7 separate regions of the Homo sapiens genome follow, and regions 2, 3, 4, 5, 6 and 7 are each linked to region 1. The links are contacts of gene promoters, found by promoter capture Hi-C in blood cells and fetal thymus (Javierre and others, 2016). All regions are on one chromosome and are shown on one strand. Each heading gives the region's core, a stretch centred on a gene start or on the middle of the fragment in contact. The rest is flanking DNA. Distances are from core to core; before and after follow the strand shown. Region 1 holds the start of CCDC184 (coiled-coil domain containing 184). Region 2 overlaps ZNF641 (zinc finger protein 641). Region 3 overlaps LOC105369750 (a long non-coding RNA gene). Region 4 has its middle 37 kb from the start of ZNF641. Region 5 has its middle 15 kb from the start of ZNF641. Region 6 has its middle 40 kb from the start of ANP32D. Region 7 overlaps COL2A1 (collagen type II alpha 1 chain).

Region 1 (4,023 bases), core at 424-2,923:
GCCAGCTCCTCCCAGCCCAGGGGCCCTTGGAACCCCATTCACCCAGATTCCTAGGGCTGCAGTTCCCTCCTCAAGCTTCCTTTACCAATCAGCAGCCGCAGAGATCTGTGAGGGGGAGAGGCTTCTGCAGAGCACTGAATATCTTGGATTTCAGCAGAAGGGTAAATTTCCTGTTGCCAGAACAAAATACCCCCAATTCCTTAATTTCCAGGTAAATTGTTAGAGATTATTTGCCATGGTCCTAGGTAAGTCCTTTTTCAGAATAGAAAAAGCAGAATTTTATTTACACAATTCACGGGTTCTCCTGTTGTCTGGGAAGGGGGAAAGGACAGGATAGGGATGGATGGGAGTCCAGAGATGGGCGCTTCCTCTCCCGGAGCCTCACCTTTCCGCAGTTCGCTATAATTCGCTTAGTTGGGCAGAAAGAATTCTCGATGCTCCCAAAGTCCTTCACCCTACAAATCCTTCCTCGAGGGAGTCTCTCTCTGCCTGACCCACAAGAGCAGCTGTCCAAGTGAAGCATGCCGCACCGCGCCGTTCAGTCCCCCTCGCGTCATGCACTCGGAAACCCAAAGACAGCCCGGGAAGGTAGTGCCCCACGGAGTCCCCTCACAGGGAGGCCTCGCCCTCCAGTTGCAGCAGGGTAATGTCGGGCATGTCGAGGGGCTCCACAAGTGGCCCGTCCCCCCCAAGGAGACCAGCACAGGGGCTTTCGGGGCGCTCACAGTGACTGGAGGGTGTGGCGGGGCTGGGCATCTCCTTCTCTTCTTCCTCTTCCTCCTCGTCCTCGGGATCGCGACCCAGCAAGCCGCTGTCCCCGATCCCAGGCGAAGGAGTCTCCGGCTCTTGGGGGTCGCTCTGGAAGCTCCCCTTGCCGCCGACCACGCCCAAGCCGCCCTGGCGGGGCGCAGTGGTCATAATCTGGCACATGGAGACGATGGCTCGCTGGTTGGCGCACACGTCGTCCGAGAGCACCTGGATGTGCGAGGCCTGCTCGTCCAGGGCCCCCCTCATGGCCCTCACGTCCTCAAACAGGGCTTGCAGCTGGGCTTTCAGGTGCTCCATCAGTTCCTTCATGCCGCCGTTGTACTCCCCGGAGATCACGTCCCCCACTGCCGGCACGGTGGACACCTCCAGGGGCGCCGGCATGTCGCCGCCGTCCTTGGTCATGATCTCCAGCAGACCGTCCTCCATTGAGTGGCAGAAGCGGGTGGCGGAGGCTCTGGGTCGCGTCCAGCCCGGCCTCCGGGGTGGGGGAGGGGGTGGAGGGGGAGAGGTCCCGGGAGGGGCTAGCGGGAGCCGAGGGAAGCGGAGGCTCCCGAGACTGGCGGGGAGCCGACGTGAGAGACGAGTCCTGGGCAGAGGGCGCAGGCAGGATCGCGGGAGGCCGAGAAGAGGCTGCGGGACGAGGACCCGGCGAGGGTCCCAGAGCCGGCGTCTCTTGGGATCGCCCCGGGACGAAAGTGCCCTGCCCTGCCTCGCCTCCCGGATCGCGCCCGTGTCAGCGCCGCCCTCTGGGCGCCACAAGCAGAGAGCGCCTGCCGGTTCCGTGGGTCACAGACGCGCTCGCGGAGGGGTCCGCGTCCAGGCTGAGGCCAGCGGCGCGTCGGACTCGGGACTCCCCCAGGCCATTACCGGGCAGCGCCCGCGAGTGTGGCAGCAGCAGCTGGGGTGGGTCTCCCGGGGGTGTCGCGGATGCTCCTCTGTTTCCAAGGCGACGCACGGCACGTAAATGACGTGTGTCTCCATGGTAACCAGGAAGTGGCGAAGAAAAAGGGAGGATGGCTGGAAGCTGCAGTGGGGCTCTGGAGTCTGGACTAGCGGGGTGGGGGGAGGAGAGGGGACGCTACAGTGGCTTCGGCCAAGGCTGGAAAGAGCGTGTGGTCGCAATGTTTAATAGGGAAGTATGAGAGAGCCGTCTGCTGCAGAAACCTCCAAGTCCGGGAGAGATCGTCCCTCCCCTAGCCGGGGTATGAGACCCAGCGAGACTGCCCTGGAAAGATTTTTCCAGCCCGCATTCCTTTCTCAGAGGATGGCGCTAAAGTCGAGTCCTGCCTCCCTGTCCTCCAGCGATGCGCAGGAAAGCGGAGAGGGTAGAGAGGCTGTTGCTAATGATCCCAGAGTTGAGCTGGGGCACGGTGGCGCTCTGGAGCCGGACCCACCGGGCCTGACGGTGCAGAGGCAGGAGGAGGGCGCTACGGAGGTTTCTGCAGTAAATCAGCCCTCTAGCTATAGAAATCACCGGAGCGGGGGAAGGATGGGACTCCCTCCTTTATGAGACCCTACCGCTCCTACGCAGGTCTCTGGGAGTTTGTCCCAGATGGGGAGGCCAAGTGCTTAAGTTTTGAGAATGAAAGCTCCATAAGGGGAGAGATTTTTGTCTCCCCTGCACCCTCCATCACGGAATCCCCAGCTCCTAAAATAGTGCCTGGCACCTAGTATGTAGATGCTTAATATAGTTATTGAATGAATAACAAAAACCACCAAGTCCCACGCTCTCATCCAGAACTCCCCAAGCCAAACGTAGTGGGTTTTAGGAGACCTGAATTCAGTTTCGTTTCTGCCACTTATTCATTCAGCGACCTTGGCCACATCATTTTCCTCATCTGTTAGGGAATTGGACTGGATAATCTATAATACTATTTCTAATTCTGAATAACAGTCTGCATCATCTCACAGGTGAAAAGGTAAACTGTTGACCGTTGTGTGGAGGGTATGGATGGGGGGACTGTGTGTTAGAGTAATTCCCGCTCTCTCTTTCAGTGCCCAAGTTCAGACATACACTGAGTATCCCCAACCTTTGTGACAAGCCCTTTCCCTATTTAAGGGGTGGAGCAGGAAGGGTGGAGGAAGAAGAAAAATTGTCTTTAATATACGTAGATGATTGCAGATTGAGAAGGAATCAGCACCTGGGCAGAGCACAATAATTAATAATGACCCTAGGAAATTAGGGAAGCCAAGTGATCGGAAGCCAAAAATGAAGTTCATAAGAATAAATCTGGGAAAGAGAAACAAACTATATCACTTCAAGATAGAGAAGAACTACGTAAAGGTGAGTGTTTTGTAGACTGGCGGTTCAGTGACAGCAAATGTGTTACCTTTGGGTTTCCCTGGTTATGTGCTTGGTGATGAAGAGTGAGGCTGGCCCAGGGAAAGTTTTGTGACACTAGAGGACTGCTTGACCTATACCAATCTTACTGCTTTTAAAATAGAAACAAGTGGGGACTATCCTAAATGACCAGCAGCAGAATGTTTAAATAAACTAAGGCAAAATTGCTGATACATAAAGTATTATGCAGCCATTAAAAATTTGATTTCCCAAAACAAATATATGAACAAATTTTAAAAACACAGTATTGTATTTTCTGAAACTAATGATTCAATTCTATTTGCTTGCTCATTTCTTCCTTCATTCTACAGATTTCCAGCACTCTCACCTTGCTTAGGACTCCTACCTCTGCTCTGTACCCCACACGTGGTAATAACACCTTAGATTACTCCTGAAACTCTGGCTCAAGAGAGGACAGAAATGCTTTTCCTTGGTTTCCATAAGCACAGCTGAAGTGGGCTGGTGTTTACAAAGAGACTTTATTAAAAACTATAGGAAAACTAGAAATAGAAACAGAACACATGAAAACAGCTGAGCTTACACAGCATAAGTTTCTGATTATACTACAGCAAGCATGTTCTCAGGGCTTATAGGTCCAACCCTGCTTTCATCCTTCCGAGGAGAGCTCTGCTATAGCCAGAAAAGACTGGCATGGCTTTCAGACTTTCTGTCTAGGTCTGTTACTTTACATCTCTTGACAAGCACTTCACATGGAAGATTTCATCTTGCCAATTCACCCTTCAGGTATATCCCTACCTTCTACCTACAAAGAGTGACTCTGTCCCAGTGGGGGACCTCTCATTGTTGAAATCCCATAAGCTTACACTAAGCATAGCCCCCATACAGGAGGAGCTATGGTATGTCATCATACAAGGCCTTTTGCCACTATTCTTGAGGATGTGAAGGCTTTCAGC
Region 2 (3,854 bases), core at 1,287-3,786, 160 kb before region 1:
CAAAGTGCTGGGGTCACAGGTATGAGCCACCGTGCCTGGCCAAGGTTAGGGTTTTTAATGGATGGCTGTGTTTGTTATCCACAGGAGGATTTTAAGAATAATTAATTACCTTCCTTTAAGAAATAAATCTGGAAAGATTAGGAAAAGAGGACCTGAAGAAAGCTTAGAAGAACCTAAAGTGGAAGGATTGGGTAGATGAGGGAGCATTTATGGAAAAGAAGAGGAAGAAGGTTATAAAGAGGGGCAGAGCTAGAAAGGAAATTAGGTTTAGATTCAGAAGGCAATAGGAGAGCTGTGGAAAGCTAATACTAATAGTGTTAGTACTAATAGAGTACACCCCCAGAGTGTTTATCATGTATGCCATTTTCTGGGTGCTTTATGTATATTAACTCATTTAATTCTGAGAACAACTCAGTTATCCAATTTTACAGATGAGGAAATGGGGCAGGGAGAGATTAAGGCACTTGTGTAGGTCATGCTGCAAGAAAGTGGCAAAGCTGAGTCACTTGGCTCCAGATTCTGAGCTCCTAACCACCATACTGTGCTGCCTAAAAATATAAAGATATGGCCAGGCACGGTGGCTCATGCCTGTAATCCCAGCACTTTGGGAGGCCGAGGTGGGCAAATCACAAGGTCAGGAGTTCGAGACCAGCCTGGCCAACATGGTGAAACCCCGTCTCTACTAACACCACAAAAAAAATAGCTGGGTGTAGTGGTGGGTGCCTGTAATTCCAGCTACTTGGGAGGCTGAGACAGGAGAATCGCTTGAACCTGGGAGGTGGAGGTTGCGGTGAGCCAAGATTGTGCTACTGCACTCCAGCCTGGGCGACAGTGAGACTCCGTCTCAAAAAAAAAAAAATGCTGTGGCAAGGGAGGCAAGAAAGAATGTTTTATCTGTAGCATTTTGTGCTGATAGAAAAGGCAGGGTCCAGTGGAAGAAGGAGGAAATGGTACATAATTTCTTCATAAAAAGAGTAAGGCCAGGGAGAAGTGACTGAGTAGACACCTGTAGCTAAACAGAGGTGGTGATGAGTTTATGGTGCCTCCAGCTTCTCATGGCCCCACTTGGGAAATTCCTCCAGTAACATTACACTCACTCACTCCTTGACCATCTACCTTTACTCCTCTCCTCATTTCCCTGTTACCAAAACTATGTGCCCTACCCAGGGACTTCTGGGCAGCTCTTTTCTCAGATCATTTCTCACCCTCTCTCCTCTACTAACTTAGCCTTTCATACTGAATCACATTTTCCTTAAAAAACAGCTGCTGACAGAAGATGCTACATTTTGTTTCAGGGCCTGGTAACCATCAAGGATGTGTCACTGTGCTTCTCTCAGGAGGAGTGGCGGAGCCTGGACCCCTCTCAGACAGACTTTTATGGAGAATATGTCATGCAGGAAAACTGTGGGATAGTAGTCTCTCTGAGTAAGCATGACCTTCTCCAGCCACTAGAAGATTGGACTCTGGGAGGACGGAGCCATCTGCTTCAGGGCTATTGGATAGTGTCTGTCTAGGACTCTTTATGTGGCAGGGAATCTGTCTATGCTTCCGCTGGAGAAAGAACACTAGGGCCAATCCCAAGAGAATGAGAGTAAATATCATTAAAAAAAAAAAAGTAAAAAAGCAAATGATGCTTAATTGTGGAGTAGAACTTGAGGTTCTTCTTGGTTGGGAATTAGGAGGTTCTCATAAAGCAGAGAGAACTGGAACTGGGTCCTTGTAAACTTGGGAACCATGTAGAGGAAGATAGGGATGCAGGGAGTAGGACTGTCGTAGTAGGACTAAAGTGAAGTTACGCCCAGAAAGGCCAGCTGGGCTGGAAGTATCTGAGTGGAAGAAAACAGGTTCATTGGGAAGGAGAGTGATTTTCTAGGCAGAGAAGAGGGACTTAACAGAAATGGGTGGGGGAAGAGGTTGGGGTGGGGATATGTTTCTTTCTTGACCTTCTTTTGTCTAGAGTTCCAAACAATAGGAAACAGTTTTTTGTATTTTTTTTTCAGAAATATAGAATTGCTGTTGAACTAATTGACAGCTCTATTTTCCTTTCCCATGAGCAGGATTTCCAATTCCCAAACTGGACATGCTTTCTCAACTAGAAGGAGGAGAAGAACAATGGGTCCCTGACCCCCAGGACTTAGAGGAGAGGGACATTCTGAGGGTCACATATACAGGTAAGAACCTAGAATAGGCTTTCAGCCACTTCCTTCACAGTTCGGGACATCATCATTCCATGTTCGTTTAATCCCTCCTCTGCCTCAGAGAGTTCCAGAGACAAAAGGTTTAGAGATTTTTTTCTTCAAAAGCAAGGGAGTGTAATAGAATGATGTAGCAGGCACTTTGTGGATTTGAATTCTGGGCTGTAGTTGTGGGACCTTGGAAAAGTAATAAAACTCCCTTTGGTTTCTTCATCTGTAAATTATTGTGAAAATTAAATATATGAATATATTAGAATATTAGAATAGAACAGTGCCAAGCACATAATAAGCACTCAATAAATGTTAGTTGTTGTTATTGTTGATATTGTTGTCAACCTCCCACCCATTTCAGGAATGCCTTGAGGACTGCCGACAGGTGTCATTCAGCCAGTGACAATTGCGGCACATTCTGTAATTCTCTCCATCTATGCTTAGATAGAAAGATGCTGATTAATAGTAATATACAGTAGTAAATAAATAATGGTAATAAATAATAACAATAACATATACAATTTACTAAGTACTTAAACTATGTGCAGGTTCTGTGCTATCTATCTTATAACTGCCGGAGAGAGAGGTATTATTCCAATTTTACAGAAGAAATGAAGGTTTAGGGAAGTTAAGTGGGAAAGCTGAGATTCCATCTTAGGTAATCTGCCTCCTAAGCCTAGGCTTTTAACCTCTATATCTATTGCACTGTCTTGTACGACATTAGACTATGTTCTCTCAGCCCTTCTGGGGTCAAGTCTGGGCCCTGGCAGGTATCAGACAACCTCATTTGTGACTTAGGCCTCAAGCACTCTCTTGTGACTCTTCTCTTGGGGTTGGTATTTCCCCTTCTCCGCAGGAGATGGAAGTGAACATGAGGGGGATACCCCTGAACTAGAAGCAGAACCTCCCAGAATGTTATCCAGCGTGTCTGAAGATACTGTTCTCTGGAACCCGGAGCATGATGAGAGCTGGGATTCCATGCCCAGCAGCTCCAGAGGAATGCTCCTGGGGCCCCCTTTTCTTCAGGAAGATAGTTTCTCAAACCTGCTGTGTAGCACAGAGATGGATTCCCTGTTAAGACCCCACACATGCCCCCAGTGTGGGAAACAGTTTGTATGGGGTTCCCACCTTGCCAGGCATCAACAAACACACACTGGGGAGAGACCCTACAGCTGCCTCAAGTGTGAGAAGACCTTTGGGCGAAGACATCACCTCATCAGGCACCAGAAAACCCACCTACATGACAAGACCAGCAGGTGCTCTGAGTGTGGTAAGAATTTCCGATGCAACTCCCATCTGGCCAGCCACCAGAGAGTGCATGCAGAAGGCAAATCCTGCAAAGGCCAAGAGGTTGGAGAGAGCCCTGGCACAAGGAAACGGCAGCGTGCCCCACCAGTGCCAAAGTGTCACGTGTGCACTGAATGTGGGAAGAGCTTTGGCCGAAGGCACCACCTTGTGAGACACTGGCTGACCCACACTGGGGAGAAGCCCTTCCAGTGCCCTCGCTGTGAGAAGAGCTTTGGCCGAAAACATCACCTGGACAGGCACCTGCTCACCCACCAGGGACAAAGTCCCCGGAACAGCTGGGACAGAGGAACATCTGTCTTTTGAAATCTGTTTCCACTACAGCTATGGTCAAGTCTATCAGCCGGTGCTACCAGGAGTCAC
Region 3 (3,647 bases), core at 376-2,875, 170 kb after region 1:
TGAAAGTCTATCAATAGGCAGCTTGTACATCGATACAGGAGAAGACCATGTCATGCAGCTATTACAAAGAAAAAGGAGCAGGATCCTTGGTGCCCAGTTGTTGAAGATTGTTCACTCTCTGTGTACCTGGGGCTGTGTTCTATGCCCTGAGAACCAGATGAGTGGGAGAAACACAAGTGCAGCGAAGCCCGATCAGAAACACAAAACTCTTTGGAAAGATGTCAGCTGGGTTTGGAAGGAAAGGAAGGGGTTTCTGAAGCAGTGCAGGTGAGAGAGGATTGGGCTGGGCCAACGGTCCACATTCTGGCATGTGTTCCTAGGTCTCTTATCTCATTGCAGTATCAATATTTTGATACTATTTCAACAACAGTGCCTTATTTAAGGAATAAATCTGCAATTTCTTGAATTTTCAAATGGTTGCTTCTTTGGCTGGGCAATAACCATGTGAAAGTGTTATTATTCCACAAGTTCACCACCCTGCCTGCTGGAGCTCTCTACTTATTTGGAAAAACAGGACTTTGCACTTGAAGCTGACAGAGAAGAAGGAAGTGGACAAGTTGGAAGACCCAAGCTCTCTTTTAACCTCTTGATCAAAACTAGTGTCACCTTGGGCAACTCCCTATTGTCCCTGTCAGGGCCAGGCTCAGGGTGCACACTTTAAGAGGCACCAAAAATACTCAGTCATCAAGATACAGACTATTTTAATGTAACATTTTAAAAATAAAAATTAATGCAAAAATCTATAATGAACAAAATACCAGACATTTAAATAAATATAGGATCAATATTACTGATTCTTCCTTTTGCTGTGGGCTCCATTATGGCTGGACACAGCATTGTCCCCAAGGCCTCATTTTCCGCATCTCTAAGTCAAGAGGGTTGGACCATTTGACTGCCCAGGAACCTGCTGGGCCCCGTTGTTTTATGGCTCAGTAATGAAGTGCCACTGAAGAATGAGAGAACATTTAACAAAGTGCTAATTGTACAGCCCAGACAATAGTGCGGGTGAGATGACAGGGAGTCTTCATGGGGACAAGGGATGGCAATAGAATCCAGGCAGCTGGGGGAGATAACAACATTTGGCCAGCTTTCTCTTTGTTTCCACTGGACACAAGCTCACCTACCAGCGACAGGAGGGGGACAATGCTCCCGCGCCTCCTCCCTCTTTCTCCCCTGGAACTGTGCTCAGACCTAGTCAGGGGACAGGGAGAGCCTCATTCACATGTGGCTTATGGCCCAGCGACCTGCTGGCTAACAAAGCTTTCTAAGGATATCTGAGAGAAGCTTGGTACCCCATAGGAGGAAGGGACAGCAACAGAGGTGCCCTGCCCGGTATCCTGGGACCCAACCAGTGCTGCCCTCTCACCTCATCCCAAGATGGGCAAAGCAGCACAGCTTGCTCTCTCGTAACCTTCCTGAGGGCACCATTGTCTTGACCGAGTCCTCTAAGGCCGGCATGGAATGAATGCATGAGAACAGCTGTGAATACAAAGCTTAGGACATTCTGTGGACATGTTGAGACAAATTAGTTAATAATCATCTAGTTAGGGAATCCCATTTCCAGAGTGAATGACTTGCACCTCCCCATCACCCAAGTCCAGGATAACATTTCTCAGTGAGACTTCAAACCCATGTTCCACATGGGGGCTGCAGCTCCACCCCTTGGGACGGCCTGGCTGCTCATGCAACCCATTTCCCGAGAGGCTGGTTTCAGAATGCTCTTCCCAAATCCTCACCAGCTCAGAGATGAAGCTTCATCTCTGCAAATGTCATTCATCACTAGAAAGTGGCTGGGGCCTCTGAGGTCCTGTTCAGATCAACAGGATGAGAGAATCCCGCTCTTCAGGAAAACCCACCTCTTCTCATTGGCCCCAGTGCCCCTCGCATTCTTGCCGAGCTGCAGGAGGGCAGCTAAAGACAAGTGACATTGGAAAAAACAGTGGCCTCCACCCTGGACAGGAAGAATGGCTCCCTTCATCGGGACTGCTCTGGGATGCCAGGGTTATCCAGGTCCCAGAGTGAGGAAGTGAATCAACTCTTCCCAGCCTTCAGTCATGCAGGCTGCTTCTGTACCCTTCAGTGGTGTGGTATTTAGACACGTTTTGTGAAAACCTGATGAACATCTCACTTAGATGTTGGAAACAAACATAAGCCCCAGCCAATTCTTACACTTGCTGAGGATGAATAAGTCCCTTTGGCTTCCCAGTTAGCTGGGTCCAACAAGCGAATTTAGAGGCTAAGAAGTGAGTTGTTGGCCCTCACATGGACTTACCATCTGAGTGTGCCCTTGGCTGGCTGCATAGCTTGAGAGCAGCGGTTCTCAACCTTAGGCACAGATTGGAATCACATGGGGGGCTTAAAAAACACTGACCAGGGTCCCCCCACCAAAAAAAATTCTGATTTAATTGTTCTGGGGTGCAGTCACAACATTGGGATCTTCAAAAGCTCCCCAAGTGATCCCAATATGCAGTCAGGACTGGGAACTACTGCCCCACCCAGACCAGTGCTGAAACCTTAACATGTAAACAAATGACCTCAGGATCTTATTAAATGAAGATTCTGATTCAGCAGGTCTGGGGTGGGACCTGAACTTCTGTACTTCTTTTTTTTTTTTTTAGACGGAGTCTCGCACTGTCACCCAAGCTGGAGTGCAGTGGCGCAATCTCGGCTCACTGCTGCAACCTCCGCCTCCCGGGTTCAAGTGATTCTCCTGCCTCAGCCTCCTGAGTAGCTGGGATTATAGGTGCATGCCACCACACCCAGTTAATTTTTGTGTTTTTAGTAGAGACAGGGTTTCACCATGTTGGTCAGGCTGGTCTCGAACTCCTGACCTGGTCGTCTGCCCACCTCAGCCTCCCAAAGTGCTGGGATTACAGGCATGAGCCACTGCGCCCGGCCGAACTACTGTACTTCTAACAAGCTCCCAGGTGATGAGATGCTGCTGGTCTGCAGACCCCACTTCAAGTAGCAAGAGCACACTGCATTGTCTAACATGGTAGCTAACAGCCACACAGGCTGCTGCTTAATTAAACCTTAAAACAACTTAAACTTTAGAAATTCAGTTCCTTCACTGTGTTAGCCACATTTTATGTGCTCAGTCACCACACGTGGCTAGTAGCTACCATATTGGATGGCACAGAGAGACTCTCCTTCATCACAGAAAGTTCTTTGGGGCAGTGCTGTCTTAGAACATCTCCTTGTCTCTCAACTCCTATTCAAGTTGCCATCTCTTGAAATGTGGATTGAAGCTACTTTGGTGGCAGGGACTATGAAACAGTACCTTATACTCCCCACATTGTGTCTGTGAACTAGAAATGTAATAGGTGCTCAGTTAATGCTTGCTTCAGTTAGGGTACTTGTGCCTTTGTCCAAAGACGATCACCATATAAACACTGACTGATTAATGTCTACTTGGGCATCAATGAGCAGTCTTATGGAGTTGTATCCAGTGGTTCAGTGGGCATGTCAGCTTGGAAGAGGTCAATGATCAGGTTGCAATAGGAATGCTTCCTCTATCCCTGGCTGGCCCATAGTTCAGGACCAAAGGAAAAAAAAAAAAAAAAGGCAGGGCTCCAGGTGGCCTCCTCTGTCAGAGCATCTGCCCATCATTAGTCATTTAGCCTGGGAGATGGGTTGAGACGCCCAGG
Region 4 (3,724 bases), core at 152-2,651, 200 kb before region 1:
TAAAAGTTGCTTTATTAGCTAAATATTTTGTTCATTAAAATAAAACCCACTGCAAAAGCCACACACATAAAAACAAATAAATGAAGAGCCATGGTGATTATAGTGCATGAGGCAGGGACAGGGAGAGACCGACACACAGGACTAGCCTCTCAGTGCTTGTGGCGGCCCCTGAAGCTTGGGGGCAGCATATTTGCGTTCCATGCAACACACTTGGAAAGTTCACTAGAGTCTGGGATCCTGGGGCTTTCTAGAGTTCAGTTGAGGTCATGCTCTGCCTCCAGATGTGTTTCTAATATAGCACAGTAGCTCTTGAAAGAGTATGATAAAGAGTGAGAAAGATCAAAAATGAAAAGTTAAATTTGCTATTGCTATTTTTAGGAAAGGGACAAGAAGAGGACTGTTCTTTGTATGAATAAATCTCAGTCCTTCTCGTGTTACTTACTTGATGCATCACCACCCAATGCTTCAGGTAGGGAAACAAGTCAGGGAAAACTAGAAGTGCCCTCTCTGATACCCCATTTTCCCCATTCCTGTAGAGTTCCGCTTCTTTAAGTCTGAGTTGCTTTCAGTCCTCCATCTGGCTTTACCTTAGTCTTCTCTTCCTGGAATTTTCCGTGACTCAGAAGTCCCCATCTTTCTTCCAAGAGGTCAGACTCCTCATGCCCATATCTTTGTGAGCATTGGGAGAATGTGAGGAAGAAGTTCCAGGCATGGTCAATGACTCAAATGCCCAGGGCCACTTCACATTCCTGCCTAGACTCCTAAGTCTCCTCAGGAAAATGCATAGTCTCCAAACCAAGAAAGATTTTCCCATAAGCACACTTTTACAGTATTGCAAAGCAGTAAAAACATAGGATTTGAAGTCAAAGGGCCTTGGGCATGAGTCTCAATTCCATCACTTTGTAAGGTGTGTGACTGAGTGTGCCACTTAACCTTCCTGACCTACAGAAATGGGGTCAGAAATACCTGTACTATCAGTTTTTGTGAGAATTAAATGAGATCAACAGCATTCTGTTATGGTGTCTGACATACATGATGCATAAAATAAATGATAGTTATTATCATATGAGTATGTAAGTAGGTGGGAACAGCAATAAGAATAAGGAAATGAGGTTTGAAGGAGGTAAGGAAAGAAAAAAATGTTTGTATTTTTCTGATGGGAGAGCAATATAAAATACAAGCGGTGAGTCAGCATGTCTTGGCAAGAGAGAGGAGAGTGAATGTCCAGAGAGAATAAAAAATGAAGAAGGCTTGGAAGTCTGGCTGAGAGGAACTGGGAGCCAGAAAGCACTTTTCCTATTTAAAAAAAAATGCTTTTACTGAAAACATAATTTTACAGCACAGGTGAAATATTTCATGGGGAAAATTGTGCACAATCTAGACACCAAAAGATCTCAAATATTTATTTTACCCATATTCTATTTCAGTCTTATACATATTTTTAAAACTTTTATTAAAAGTATGTCTTATGAAGATTTTAATCACATTTGCTCCAATTTTATACCCATTTTGCATTTGGGAAGGTTATGTCTTGAAAAGTTTTCACAGACTTTTCAAGGTAATCAGCAAGGGCTTCCTAACTCTGAGTCTAGTGCTCACTTTACCGCCATAGTAGCTGCTGTAGAAACTTAAGACATGTTGCAAACTCACAGGACCAAGAAATATTAGGGTCACTCCTGTCCTGCCCAGTCCACACCAGGCTCAATGCAAAACTGCTTAAATCCACAAATATCTATTGCCCATGTGTGGAGCATCAGAAAGAGAACTGGATGAGAAATCAGAACAACTTGCTTGGTCTTGGCTCTGAAACCACCTAGCTACGTGACCTTGTGCAAGACATGTCATTTCCCTCTTCCATATTGTCCTTATGTGAAAATACAGAGTCAGATAACATGCCTCTGAATGTTCCTTTCAGATGAAATGTGCTAAGAATTTAAGCTCCAATTGTTTGGAAAAATAGCCTCCCACAAAAGAGTTTCACTTTGGCATCTTTCTACTCATTTCAACTCTAGGGCTCACCTGATCTTGGATGTTACCAGCTGAAAGGCTGGGGAAGAGTACAAGAGGATAGAGACTGTGGGAGGTGTCTTGCTTCTAAGCAGAGAGCTGGTAGCATGAGGGTTAGGGGAAGACATTATAGCTGAGGAGGCATTCATTCTTTCATTTGGCAAATACTGAGAGCCTTCTAACTGGGTCTACTGCGTTTCTAGGACTGTGACACTTCCCTGATCATCTTCTCTAACTCAAAAGTTTTTAAGACGGTGACAATTATTGGCTTTGGGGAGTGCATCAGTGTTGTGCCGAACCCCTATCAACTCCAGTGGGGATGGCACCAGGTTCAAGAGGCCAAAGAAGAGACTCAGAGCCAGCAAATGAGACATGGAGTTTTATTGGGGGCTTACATAGAGGGGAGAGAGTCCAATGGCGATGGACTAGATAAGATAACTGCACGGCCCAGTGGCAGCAGGCTGGGCAGGAGAACTGCCTTACATACAGTACAGCAATGGCAGACTGGGCAGAAGAACTTCAACTGCTTGCAAAAGGCCTGCAGTTTATATAGCATTGTCACTTAGCAACACCCTCCCCCACCCCCCACAAAAGAGTCTCCATCCAGCAACTTAAGCTTAACCCAAAACAAGGGACCTTGATCCCCTGTATGGCCCACATTCTACTGGACGAGCCGGAGGCTCAGCTGTTCCTCATGGACAAGGAACAAATCTCTGGGCTGGCCACTCCCGGATTCCCCAGCTTGGAACACACATTCAGGTGTGTCTGCCGTACTGGGTCATTCTCAGGGTATGCTTAAGTTACTGCTATCAGGTGGGTTTACCATACACTCTGTAGGGGAAAAAAAGACAAATATCCTTGCCTGTGTATAATATAGTATAATATAAATTCCAGAAGGCAGAGATAATTTTTTAATGTACTAAGTAAGTCAAGTATCTGTTAGAAAGCATTAAGTGTTATGAGGGAAAAGAAGATTAGCTGGATGAGGGGCTTAGGAGAGCTTGGCAGAAGGAAAGTTGCAGTATTTAATAGAGTAATTTGATATTCCTTTGGCCTCAGATTTAATATCTGGATTGAAGGTAAAATGTGAATTTTTTTTTTTTTTTGAGATGCAGTCTTGCCTGTTGCCCAGGCTGGAGTGCAGTGGCACCATCTCGACTCACTGCAAGCTCCGCCTCCAGGGTTCACGCCATTCTCCTGCCTCAGCCTCCCAAGTAGCTGGGACTACAGGCGCCCGCCACCACACCCAGCTAATCTTTTTGTATTTTTAGTAGAGACGGGGTTTCACCGTGTTAGCCAGTATGGTCTTGATCTCCTGACCTTGTGATCCGCCCGCCTCGGCCTCCCAAAGTGCTGGGATTACAGGCGTGAGCTGCTGTGCCCAGCCAAGGTGAATTCTTTATAGGTTAAAATCACTGAGAAAGACTCAGATAATTGTCCTACCAGATGAAATATTCATATATGTTTCTTTCTGGGGATAGTATCTCTAAGAAACCATCAAAAATGTTAGCATTATCGATGAATTAATTTGTGTTTCTGGGGCTGTCCAGTGCCCCACCCCCAGATCCAGACCCCACTCTTTGTGCTGTTCCTGGTGATTTATCTCCTGACCCTGATAGGGAATCTGATGATGCTGTTGGTAATCAATGCTGATTCTTGCCTCCGTACCCCCATGTAATTCTTCCTTGGACATTTTTTCTTCCTAGATATATGTTAC
Region 5 (3,993 bases), core at 672-3,171, 180 kb before region 1:
AATATTCTTCTCAGATTTTGGTATTAAGGTAATATGTGTCTCATAAAACAAGTTTAGAAGCGTAATTTCTCCTCTATTTTCTAAGAGGTCATTTTGCACTGATATTTCTAAAACATTTAATAGAATTCATCCTAAACAAGTTCATATTTAAAAAAAAGAATTCACCAGTAAGGGTATTGGATCTGGAGCTTTTTTTAAAAAATAAGGGAGGTGCTGATTAACTTTTAGGTTTGTAAAGTCAGATATGCATTCTAAAATTTCTAGGTTACAATTACAGTAATAAAAATAGGCTGTATATCAGAATTAGTGAGGGGATGATAATTATACCACTCAATCCAAACGAAGGCATAAAGAGAAAAAAATAAATCAACTTAGAGAGAACAAGTCAAATATGTAGCACAAAATAAAAGGACAGAAAAATTCCAAAATATCCATAATAACAAAAAAGTAAATAAACTAAAATCTCCATGTAAAGACAAATATTTTCAGGGAGGATTAATTTTTAAACTTCAATTTATATACTATACACAAAACATGCCTTGAACATTATGACAAAGAAAAGTTAAAAATAAAATTATAAAAAAGGATATACATACAAATATTAACAAAATAAAAGCTAATTAATGTCAAACCAAATAGACTATAGCCGTTAAAGCTTAGGGCACAAAGCATTACTGTAAAATGGTAAGTTTTATTTCACAGAGAAGTTGTTTCATCAAAACATGTATCAGCCTAATATAACCTTAAAATATATAAAGCAAAAATGGACATAATTATAAGAAAAAGGTAACAAAACCATAAATGAACTGGGAGATTTTCATATACCTGTAGTGGCCCCCCAAAAGATATGTCTATGCTCAAATCCCTGGAACCTGTGAATGTTACCGGCAAATGGCTTTTTAAATTGATAATTAAGGTTTTTGAGATCATCCTGGATTATCCAGTAAGCTCTAAACCCAATGACACATGTCCTTACGACAGAAGAAAGAGGAGAAAACTCAGGCACACAGAGGAGAAAGCAACGTGAAGACAGAGGCAGAGACTGGAGTGATTGGAGCTGCAAGCCATGGAATGCAAATGACTGCCAGCAACCACCAGAAGCTTGGGAACAGGCATAGAATGAATCCTTCCACAGAGTCTTCAGAGGGAACACAACCCTGTGGTTACCTTGGTTTTGAACTCCTAGCTTCCAGAACTGTGAGGGAAAAAAATTTCTTTTGTTTGTAAGACACCAAGTTTGTGGTAATTTATTACAGCAGGTACAAGACATGTATACACCTCCCTCATTCTTAAAAAACAAACAAACAAAAAACCGCATAGACCAAAACTAAGAAAAAAAGAATCAAACTATACAACATTTTTTTTTTGTTTTTAGACAGAGTCTCACTCTGTTGCCCAGACTGAAGTGCAGTGGCACAATCATAGCTCACTGCAGCTTCAACTTCCTGGGCTCAAGTGATCCTCTTGCCTCAGCTTTCCAAGTAGCTGGGACTCTAGGCATGCACCACCACACCTGGCTAATTTTTTAATTTTTTATAGAGATGGGGGTCTCACTATACTAGCCAAGCTGGTCTCAAACTCCTAGCCTCAAACAATCCTCCCATCTTGACTTCTCAGAGCTGGGATTAACAGGCATAAGCCACTGCACCCAGCCTAATTACAATTTTTGATCTGATAGAATATACAGAGCACTGCATCAAATAATCAGACAGAGTTTTTAAAAATTAGCACTCATAAGCCAGGCGTGGTGGCTCATGCCTGTAATCCCAGCACTTTGGGAGGCCGAGGCGGGCGGATCACGAGGTCAGGAGATTGAGACCATCCTGGCTAACACGGTGAAACCCCATCTCTACTAAAAAAATACAAAAACATTAGCCAGGCGTGGTGGTCGGAGCCTGTAGTCCCAGCTACTTGGGAGGCTGAGGCAGGAGAATGGCATGAACCCGGGAGGCGGAGCTTGCAGTGAGCCGAGTTCGCGCCACTGCACTCCAGCCTGCGCGACAGAGCGAGACTCCGTCTCAAAAAAACAAAAACAGAAACAAAAACAAAAAATTAGCACTCATGAAATTTTTGTGAAATGGGCATAAAGCAAGTCTCTAAAAATCAGTATCATGAATCAAATTCTCTGATTATATTAAGTTTTAAAAAGATAAAGAAGACTCTTGCAATGTTTTAAAATTAAATAAGTCAAGCATTATAAAGATAAAATAACATTGGGTATTTTTAAATAATTAGAAATGAAAGATAATGAAAATTCTCCATGTCAAAACTTGTGGCACATACCTATAGCAACAAAGAGAACTATATTCTTATATGATGAAAAATGAAAATAATAAGGTAAGTATTCAAATTAAGACTTTATTAAAAGGAAAAGAGCATAAATCTAAAGAATGTTAGAAGAAATTAATAAAATGGAAAGAAAATACTTAACAGAAATAATTTTTAAACTGAAAAATTGTTCTCCAAAAGAACCTCTGGAAGATTGAGCAAAAAGAAAAGAAAATACAAAAAAAAATTAGGAATAAAAAGAGGACATAACCACAGGTGCAAAAGATATTTTTAAAGCTATGGTGGACATTTATCTGCTGATTTTTGTTGTTTCCATTTAGATAGGAACTGGCAGTGCATGTGTGTGCCCAGATGAAAGGATAAGCATAAGCTGGTGTGACCTGAAATTTGGGCAGTCTGCCTTTTTCTAAAAATTAAACACTAACTTCTGCCACTCTATCAAGAAAAGCTTGTATGAAGTTTTTGACTCCTAAGAGTACTCTGCTGTGATCAATATTTTGTTTAAACTGTTTATTTGTGCAACAAATCTTGGAATTTTCACGCTAAGAACATTGCTAACCTATTCTAAATAAATTCACAATATATCTCTATTTCTGAGTGCAGCCTGTTTTCTGCTATAATTAGCACCATGCTCTGATGTTAATGTTCTTTAGTTATGGAGTTATGCTATGCGATCCTCCACCACACATCTATTTTGAAAAGGTGAAAACCTTACTACTTTTTTGCATCAGAAATAAATGAGGCAATCCATACTGAAAGTGCTTCAAGGAATAATGAGAAATACAGTTAAAAGTGCTTGTAGTTCTTGACTGTAATGTGTCACTTACATGCTAATTAACCACACTATGAGCATATATTCCAGATTAGGACAGTTGACCTCCCTTACAGTATAGTGTAAAGTAACTAACACAATATAATATCCTGCTACGCTTAAGCATTTTAAAGTTAAAGATATCATAGTATCTGCAAATTTGACAAACTCACTCTAAAGTTTAGATAGAACATAAAATTAAGAAGTCAATATAACCCTGAATAATAATAAGATGAACAGATTTTCCTTCTTATATATCAAAATTTATCATAAAGTTTTATAATAAGGATAATATGGTATTTGCAATGAGATAAATAAACCAATGAGATCATAATAGAGACTAGGCCAGAAATAAACGAGTATACACTTGAAAAATTGATGACAGCTGGGAGCAGTGGCTCATGCCTGTAATCCCAGCATTTGGGAGGCCAAGGTGGGAAGATCATGAGGTCAGGAGATCGAGACCATCCTGGCCAACATGGTGAAACCCCGTCTCTACTAAAAATACAAAAATTAGCTGGGCATGGTGGCACACGCCTGTAGTCCCAGCTACTCGGGAGGCTGAGGCAGGAGAATTGCCTGAACCCAGGAGGCAGAAGTTGCAGTGAGCCAAGATCGCACCACTGCACTCCAGCCTGGCAACAGAGCCAGACTCTGTTTCAAAAAAAAAAAAAAAAAAAAAAAAAAAAAAAAAAAAAAAATTGATGACAAAGCTGACAGTGTAAACCAAACATATATTTCCCTGTATTTTGTAGGAAACCTTTAACATGTTTTTTACATTTTAAGACTGTAATCCATCTAGAATTGATTTTGTGTACATTGATATAAGAACCAACTTTATTTTCTCCAAATAATACCAACTGTTTCATTTATTTTATAGCTCTTCCCTTTCC
Region 6 (3,510 bases), core at 408-2,907, 250 kb before region 1:
ATTAGGGTGGGAGTGACCCGATTTTCCAGGTGCCATCTGTCACCCCTTTCTTTGAGTAGGAAAGGGAATTCCCTGACCCCTTATGCTTCCGGGGTGAGGTGATGGCTCGCCCTGCTTTGGCTCATGCATGGTGCACTGCACCCACTGTCCTGCACCCACTGTCCAACAAGCCTCAGTGAGATGAACCCAGTACCTCAGATGGAAATGCAGAAATCACCTGTCTTCTGCATTGCTCACGCTGGGAGCTGTAGGCTGGAGCTGTTCCTATTTGGCCATCTTGGCTCCACCGCTGGCAAAGAATATTTTTAAAAGCTTCTGGCTGGCCGGGTGCGGTGGCTCACACCTGTAATTCCAGTACTTTGGGAGGCCAAGGTGGGCAGATCACAAGGTCAAGAGATCAAGACCATCCTGGCTAACATGGTGAAACCCCGTCTCTACTAAAAATACAAAAAATTAGCCAGGGGTGGTGGTGGGTGCCTGTAGTCCCAGCTACTCAGGAGGCTGAGGCAGGAGAATGGTGTGAACCTGGGTGGCGGAGCTTGCAGTGAGCCGAGATTGAGCCACTGCACTCCAGCCTGGGCAACAGAGCAAGATCCTGCCCCCCCCCCCCCCAAAAAAAAGCTTGTTGCACAGTAACTGTACTTTGAATGTGTAAGTTGTGAGTCAAGAAATGGAGAATCCATTTAGGATAAGTTCTCACCAGAGGGATCCCACTGCTAAGGCAGTTCAAAATAGTTTTTTGAATAGAATCGCCTATCATGCAAAGGTCAGTCTTTCCTTCCTGGTGAGCCTAGTTCTGGTCCATGAACGCACAAGCACTGTAGCCGTGGCTGAGCAAGGTGGTGGTTATGCAAACGGCAACATTTTCTTTCATTCACCAAGGCTGATCTGCTGTTGCCATTGGTGACAGGTATTTTGATAAAGGTCACACATAAATTTTGCCAGATATATTACCAGATACCATCTATTTTTTGTTCCTATTGTGAATTAAAAATTCAGATATATTTACTACTTGGTTATTTCTGATGTATAGGAACGTTGTGGTATTTTGTACATTGATCTTGTATCTGTCAAGTTTGTTGAACTATCTTTCTAGTACTACTGTCTTGTTTATACATACTATTGGATTTTAACATTACATTTTAATTATTTTATCTTAAATTAGGGTAAGATTTTTTATATGCTTTTTTTTTTTTTGTAGAAAAAGTTTCACTCTTGTTGCCCAGGCTGCAGTGCAATGGTGTGATCTGGGCTCACTGCAACCTCCACCTCCTGAGTTCAAGCGATTTTCCTGCCTCAGGCTCCCCAGTAGCTGGGGTTACAGGCATGTACCACCACGCCTGGCTAATTTTGTACTTTTAGTAGAGATGGGATTTCTCCATGTTGGCCAGGCTGGACTTGAACTCCTGATCTCAGGTGATCAGCCCACCTTGGCCTTCCAAAGTGCTGGGATTACAGGCATGAGCCAGTGTGCCTGGCTGTATGCAATTTTTATATATCTCATTTTTAAAGTTCATGCAGCAGCCAGGACCTCCAGTATAGATATCTTTCTGTTAGGATCAATGAGAAAGCTTCTCATGTTTCAGCATTAAGGATGATGTTCTATTTTTGATGAATATCTTTAAGTTATTAAGAGAGTTCTTTTTTGTTTGTGTTTTCTGAACCTATGGATTATATTGAAAGGAGAGTTCTTTTCTAAACATATTTTGCTAAGAATTGGTGTGAGATTTTATCACAAGCTTTTTCTGCTTCTATTGAGGACTACGGTTGTTTCTCTTTTGTTCAGTACTGTATAGTGTCTGTCACACAATAGGCATGCAATAAAAACATTTTGGAAAAAAATAAATTCATTGAAATGGTTATATGGTTTTTGTCATTTAATTTGTTAATAACAAATTGTATCAGTGCATGTTCTGTTTTTGAAGAATTGTTGCATTCCTGGAATCAGCCTACTTAGGTAGAGTATTAAAAACTTAATTAACTTTTACCAGTATTTAACTTAGGAATTTCCTATTTGTATTTATAAGTGAGATACTATAATTTTTTTATTGCATTCACTCCATCTTTTCTTTTTAAGAACTTTATTGAGATTATAATTTATACATCACAATATTCAGCCATTCAAAGTGCACAAGTCAATGGTTTCTAGCATATTTACAGAGTTTTGCACCCATCACTACCACCAATCTCAGGACATTTTGTCATCCCCAAAGAAATCTCACACCTATGGGTAGTCACTCTCCAATCCCATCCCCATTCTTGGCCCTAGAATTCCACTAAACTACTTTTTATGTATATAGATTTGCCTATTCTAGACATCCAATACTGATATCAATAATATGCTTTCATTCATCTTTGTATTTTCTTAAAATATTTGCTTAAAGAAGAGATGATCACTTTCTCGAAGGTTTTTATAAAACTCATCTTTGACATTTTAAGGATTTCTTGTCTTGTTGAGAAAATTTTTTATTTCTAATTTAATTCCTTTGATGATTATTGTACACTTGTGTTTTATATTTTGTTAGTGAATCAATTTTGGTGATTTGTAATTTTCATCACTATTTTTCATCTAATTTAATTAGTATTTTGTTTCTCATAATATTCTCTTATAATTTTTAAATATTGACTCATGTATTCAGCATTCATTTCATTTGAAAATGAAAAGTTTCCAACATACAGCAAAGTTAACAGAATTTTATAGTGAATACCCAGATAATCACATCTAAATTTTATAATTAACATTTTAATATACATTCTTTTTTACTTTTTATTTTTCCATAGGTTATTGAGGGTACAGGTGGTGTTTGGTTACATGAGTAAGTTTTTTAGTGGTGATTTGTGAGATTTTGGTGTACCCATCACCTGAGCAGTACACATTGCACCCTATTTGTAGTCTTTTATCCCTCCCCCACCACCCTTCCCCACAAGTTCCCAAAGTCCATTGTATCATTCTTATGCCTTTGCATCCTCATAGCTTAGGTCCCACATATGGGTGAGAACATACAATGTTTGGTTTTCCATTGCTGAGATATTTCACTTAGAATAATAGTCTCCAGTCTCACCCAGGTTGCTGTGAATGCCATTAATTGATTCATTTTTATGGCTGAGTAGTATTCCATCGTATATATATACCACAGTTTCTTTACCCACTCGTTGATTGATGGGCATTTGTGTTGGTTCCACGATTTTGCAATTGCAAATTGTGCTGCTATAAGCATGCATGTGCAAGTATCTTTTTTGTGTAATGATTGATTTTCCTCTGGGTAGATACTCAGTAGTGAGATTGCTGAATCAAATGGTAGTTCCACTTTTAGCTCTTTAAGGAATCTCCACACTGTTTCCGTCTTGGCTGTACTAGTTTACATTCCCGCCAGCAGTGTAGAAGTGTTCCCTGATCACCACGTTCACGCCAACATCTACTGCTTTTTTATTTTTTTAATTATGGCCATTCTTGCAGGAGTAAGGTGGCATCACATTGTGGTTTTGATTTGCATTTCTCTGATCATTAGT
Region 7 (3,621 bases), core at 562-3,061, 190 kb after region 1:
AGAGCTGCGGTGGCCCTAGTCTGCATGGGCTAAAGACAAGCTCCATCTCCTGTCCTTGTTCCCTCCTTCCTGGGCACAGCCGCCCTGCTTCTTGGTTCTCTCTGTTGGTTCCTGTCCGCACGGTAGTTAGGCTGGCAGCGTGTGTAGGATTTGGCTTAGAAGATTGACAACATTGCCTTTGAGCCCTTCTTTGCTACTCCTCCCTCTCCCCTCCCATCAGACTCCTCTCTGGAGTCTGCTCTGCGAGGCCTCTGCTCTGTGGTATCCCAGCAGCCTTCTCAGCCTTGACTTCCAGAAGGGGGCTGTGCAGTGTCCGGGGTGTGCAGGCCCCAGACACGGGGTAGGCTCATGGAGATCCAAGTGCTGATCTAGTGTCAAGGCTGGCCTGGAGACTGGGCTGGGTTGGTGTCTGCCTGCTGTGGTCATGTGCCCTCCCTTGGGCCTGTATCCTCTCTCCAGACTTGCTGCAGGGAGAGGTGGCAGATGTCAGCCTAGTTCTGGCCTCTCAGAGCAGCATGGCAGCTCCCTTTCACTCAGGCCCAGGCTGGGCCCTCCTGCTGGCTGACCCCTGGGGAGAGGGTGCTCCAGAGCTCCCCAAGGAACTGCTTCCCGAAGCAGCCAGGCCAGCCCAGAGGGGCTGTGGCCAATCCTGAAGCTTTATGTTCCTGCTGACATTTTTTCTAAGTTTTCTCTTGCTTTCCTCTTAAATGCCAATCTGGAGAGTCTCCGTTAGGAGAAATGGACCCCAGCCAGGAAGAAGAGTTGAGTTGTATTTAAAACACGAGCTCCCCCTAAAGCATCCTTCTTTAGCTTCTAAGGAGAGGCAGAGACTGACAGGCAGGACTCAGCAGGAAAAGGTACCCCCCTGACCTGCTCAGTCAGGCCCTAGGCCCAGCTCCACCCAGCCTGTGGCCCCCAGAGTTTCGGTAAAGAGTTCCCTGGGCCTTAAGGAACCTTGAGAGAGCATTTGAGGGGTGCCACCACAAACTTGGCAGAAAAAACCCTCCCCCTCCAAGTCCAGTCCTAGAGAAGGAGCTGGCAACCTTGCCTTGCTTTGTAAGCAAAAGCCTCTTAGGGCTTGAGCTCAGATGTAGTGTTTGAGCTGTGGCTGGTGCCCTGCCCCATCAGGGAGCCAATGGTAGACATCCTATGGGCATCTTTGTTTTCCGTAAGAGCAGGCTGTCTGGGGATGGGCCAGAGGAAGAGGCAACCTGGAGTCAACCAAGAGGAGGCCTTAACCAAGCCTTAACCACAGAGGTTAACCAAGCCTTGAAAGCGCTTCCCCCTGAGCAGGCAGGAAGCACTGAGTCCACATGGTTGCCTCGCTGTTTCATTTCCTTACACTCAATTCTCTCAGTCTTTAAATGATCACTTGGCCTTGAAGTTACGGATATTTGGGGTCTGAACTGAAGTTGAAGAAAAGAGAAAATGATTTAAGCTTTGTTTAAGATTAGGGGCCAGGTGCGGTGGCTCACGCCTGTAATCCCAGCACCTTGGGAGCCTGAGGCGGGTGGATCACCTGAGGTCAGGAGTTCCAGACCAGCCTGGCCAACATAGCAAAACCCAGTCTCTACTAAAAATAACAATAAAAAAAATAGCCAGGTGTGGTGACACATGCCTGTAATCCCAGTTACTCAGGAGGCTGAGGCAGAATTGCTTGAACTTGAGAGGTGGAGGTTGTAGTGAGCCAAGACCGCACCACTGCACTCCAGCCTGGCGACAGAGCCAGACTCCGTCTCAAAAACAACAACAAAAAAAGATTAGAAGAAGCCCATTACTGCCTTCTGGCCACCCACTCGCACAGACACCAAAACTGCAGCCCACACCTCGCCATCCTCGTGCTCTGCCCTGGGACACCCCAGGCACAGTGTGTCCTTCGTTTTCTGTAAGGGTGGGCTGGGAGCAGGGACGGACAGGGCCTGTGGGCACCTCTCATGGTCACTTCCTTCTTGCTCACAGGGTGCCCGAGGCAACGATGGTCAGCCAGGCCCCGCAGGGCCTCCGGTAAGTTCATTTCATCCTCAGCAGGTCATTGTTGCTGTGCTTTAAGTCCCGTTAAGCAGCCCAAGGCAGTCTGCAGGGTGTATTGGGTGCAACCACAGCAGCACTCTGATGTCTACTGGAAAGGGGGAGGAAAGAGAAGAAGTTTGTAAATATCAATTGAGCATATCGATAACAAGCTTTGAAGCATGGGCTCATTTTCCTCAGCCATCCTTTCAGCAGTCTTTTTAGAGGAGGGAGGTCAAAGGAGTTTCTGCTTCTCACCACAGATGTAGTCAGAAACTTGCTTTGCCTTCTGAAGCCAGGCAAAGTTTCCTGGGGACGCTGGCAATGGGGACAATTTTCATCCAAGGCCTTTTAGCCACAATGGATATGGAGTGAAATCAGTACAGAGGAGGGAAGGAGTGTGAGGTGTCGGGGTGGCTCGCTTTGGAGGCCAGAACTGGCATTCACCTCTCTTCTCATCCGCCTACTCTCTCCAGGGTCCTGTCGGTCCTGCTGGTGGTCCTGGCTTCCCTGGTGCTCCTGGAGCCAAGGTACGTGCCCTGTTGTCCAGTCAGGAACTTCTGGGTGCCGAGAAGCTGTCCTTTCCCCGTAACCCTTGCTCATTGCTCCCTCAACAACCACCTGCTCCCTTCTGAGAAGTAGCTCCCCACCACCCCACCCACTGGCCCCTCCATCCAGGCAGGGCAAAAAGCCAGACACTCGCAGTCTCACCTGGAGGGAAAGTAAGACAGAAGATAAAATGTGGGAGATCCAGTTACAACTTTGGAGTGGGGAAAGGTGGACAGAGAAGAAGACGGGGATACACCATAGGCCTGGCAGGGGCAGAAGGCCAGGAGTGGCAGCACAGGGAAGCAAACCTAGGGGAGACCCAACAGCTGAGCAAGCTCGGGGCCCTGACGGGCACTGGAGGGAACTGGGCAGGGAAAAGGGCACAGGCAGGGAGCCCCTGCTCCCCTCTGGGTTTCTGCTTTATTTGGGGTGCCTGGCTCTTCCAAACCATGTTAACGGAGTTCTCTGGAGGATTACTAGAGGCCAGTGGGAGGCCAGCCAGTTCAGGGACAGGCCTCGCAGCCCAGGAAGGATTCCAGTGTGAACGTCCCTGGGAATGAATAAGGAGCCTCCATGTGTCACTGGCATCAGGTTGCTTTTCCCCTCCTGGGGGTTTCCATGGCAACCAGACAGTGTCTGAGGTCCCGGAGCCGGGTGAAGGAGACCCATTGTGAAGAGGGACAGCGGAAGGTGAGGGGGGCTGACCTTTTGAAAATAATAATTACCACAGTGAAGCAGGAATGTTCTGAGAAGAAACCTGAGGAGGCTCTGCCCTCTCTCCAGGTCAGCAGCCCTCCCCAGGGACTCTGCCATCTAGAGTGGGTTGTAATTTTCAGGAAAAAATGAAAGTAAAAGCACAAGCCATTTTGTGGGGAGGGGGCTTGCCAGAGGCGCCCGCTAAGGGGAATTGGGCTGTATTGAGAGCAGGGAGGGGCAGAGTCCCCATGTGCTTTTGCCTTGGCTTTCTGGCTTACTGAGAACAGACTGGGGCCGGAGCCAGGGTGTCACTGTTCACCCGTCAGCCAGATGGGAGTGAGGTGGTGCTCTGAGCTGGGATGTTCAGAG

Evidence for each region. The method cuts DNA at HindIII sites, captures the fragments that hold promoters and counts their contacts. A CHiCAGO score of 5 or more calls a contact.
Region 2: a fragment that was not itself captured here is called in contact with the fragment with the promoter of CCDC184 in region 1 in 5 of 17 cell types (monocytes, neutrophils, M1 macrophages and 2 more); the score reaches 10.7 in monocytes.
Region 3: a fragment that was not itself captured here is called in contact with the fragment with the promoter of CCDC184 in region 1 in 1 of 17 cell types (megakaryocytes); the score reaches 5.6 in megakaryocytes.
Region 4: a fragment that was not itself captured here is called in contact with the fragment with the promoter of CCDC184 in region 1 in 1 of 17 cell types (neutrophils); the score reaches 5.5 in neutrophils.
Region 5: a fragment that was not itself captured here is called in contact with the fragment with the promoter of CCDC184 in region 1 in 3 of 17 cell types (monocytes, neutrophils and M1 macrophages); the score reaches 6.1 in monocytes.
Region 6: a fragment that was not itself captured here is called in contact with the fragment with the promoter of CCDC184 in region 1 in 3 of 17 cell types (M1 macrophages, megakaryocytes and M0 macrophages); the score reaches 8.3 in M1 macrophages.
Region 7: a fragment that was not itself captured here is called in contact with the fragment with the promoter of CCDC184 in region 1 in 2 of 17 cell types (megakaryocytes and naive B cells); the score reaches 7.0 in megakaryocytes.

What each region holds. Positions count from the first base shown.
Region 1 is chr12:48,181,294-48,185,316 of GRCh38, reverse strand. It overlaps CCDC184 (coiled-coil domain containing 184), which reads right to left and starts at 1,673. Exons shown (of 1, transcript NM_001013635.4): 1 at 1-1,673. The coding sequence starts at 1,194. The coding sequence ends at 610. The HindIII fragment of the contact is 3,853 bases long and covers 78-3,930 here.
Region 2 is chr12:48,342,916-48,346,769 of GRCh38, reverse strand. ZNF641 (zinc finger protein 641) reads left to right here. Exons shown (of 6, transcript NM_001172681.2): 4 at 1,296-1,425; 5 at 2,058-2,171; 6 at 3,043-3,854. The coding sequence ends at 3,797. Among named protein-coding and RNA genes, the nearest start is that of ZNF641, 6.1 kb to the left of the region's middle. The HindIII fragment of the contact is 4,744 bases long and covers 165-3,854 here.
Region 3 is chr12:48,015,001-48,018,647 of GRCh38, reverse strand. LOC105369750 (a long non-coding RNA gene) reads right to left here. Exons shown (of 4, transcript XR_944904.3): 2 at 1,367-1,504. Among named protein-coding and RNA genes, the nearest start is that of COL2A1, 12 kb to the right of the region's middle. The HindIII fragment of the contact is 259 bases long and covers 1,496-1,754 here.
Region 4 is chr12:48,386,107-48,389,830 of GRCh38, reverse strand. It overlaps the pseudogene OR5BT1P. Among named protein-coding and RNA genes, the nearest start is that of ZNF641, 37 kb to the right of the region's middle. The HindIII fragment of the contact is 2,449 bases long and covers 177-2,625 here.
Region 5 is chr12:48,363,434-48,367,426 of GRCh38, reverse strand. No RefSeq gene overlaps it. Among named protein-coding and RNA genes, the nearest start is that of ZNF641, 15 kb to the right of the region's middle. The HindIII fragment of the contact is 1,636 bases long and covers 1,104-2,739 here.
Region 6 is chr12:48,430,558-48,434,067 of GRCh38, reverse strand. It overlaps a transcript of C12orf54 not described here. Among named protein-coding and RNA genes, the nearest start is that of ANP32D, 40 kb to the left of the region's middle. The HindIII fragment of the contact is 168 bases long and covers 1,574-1,741 here.
Region 7 is chr12:47,988,144-47,991,764 of GRCh38, reverse strand. COL2A1 (collagen type II alpha 1 chain) reads left to right here. Exons shown (of 54, transcript NM_001844.5): 17 at 1,960-2,004; 18 at 2,484-2,537. Among named protein-coding and RNA genes, the nearest start is that of COL2A1, 15 kb to the left of the region's middle. RefSeq lists an enhancer at 1,502-1,551. The HindIII fragment of the contact is 742 bases long and covers 1,441-2,182 here.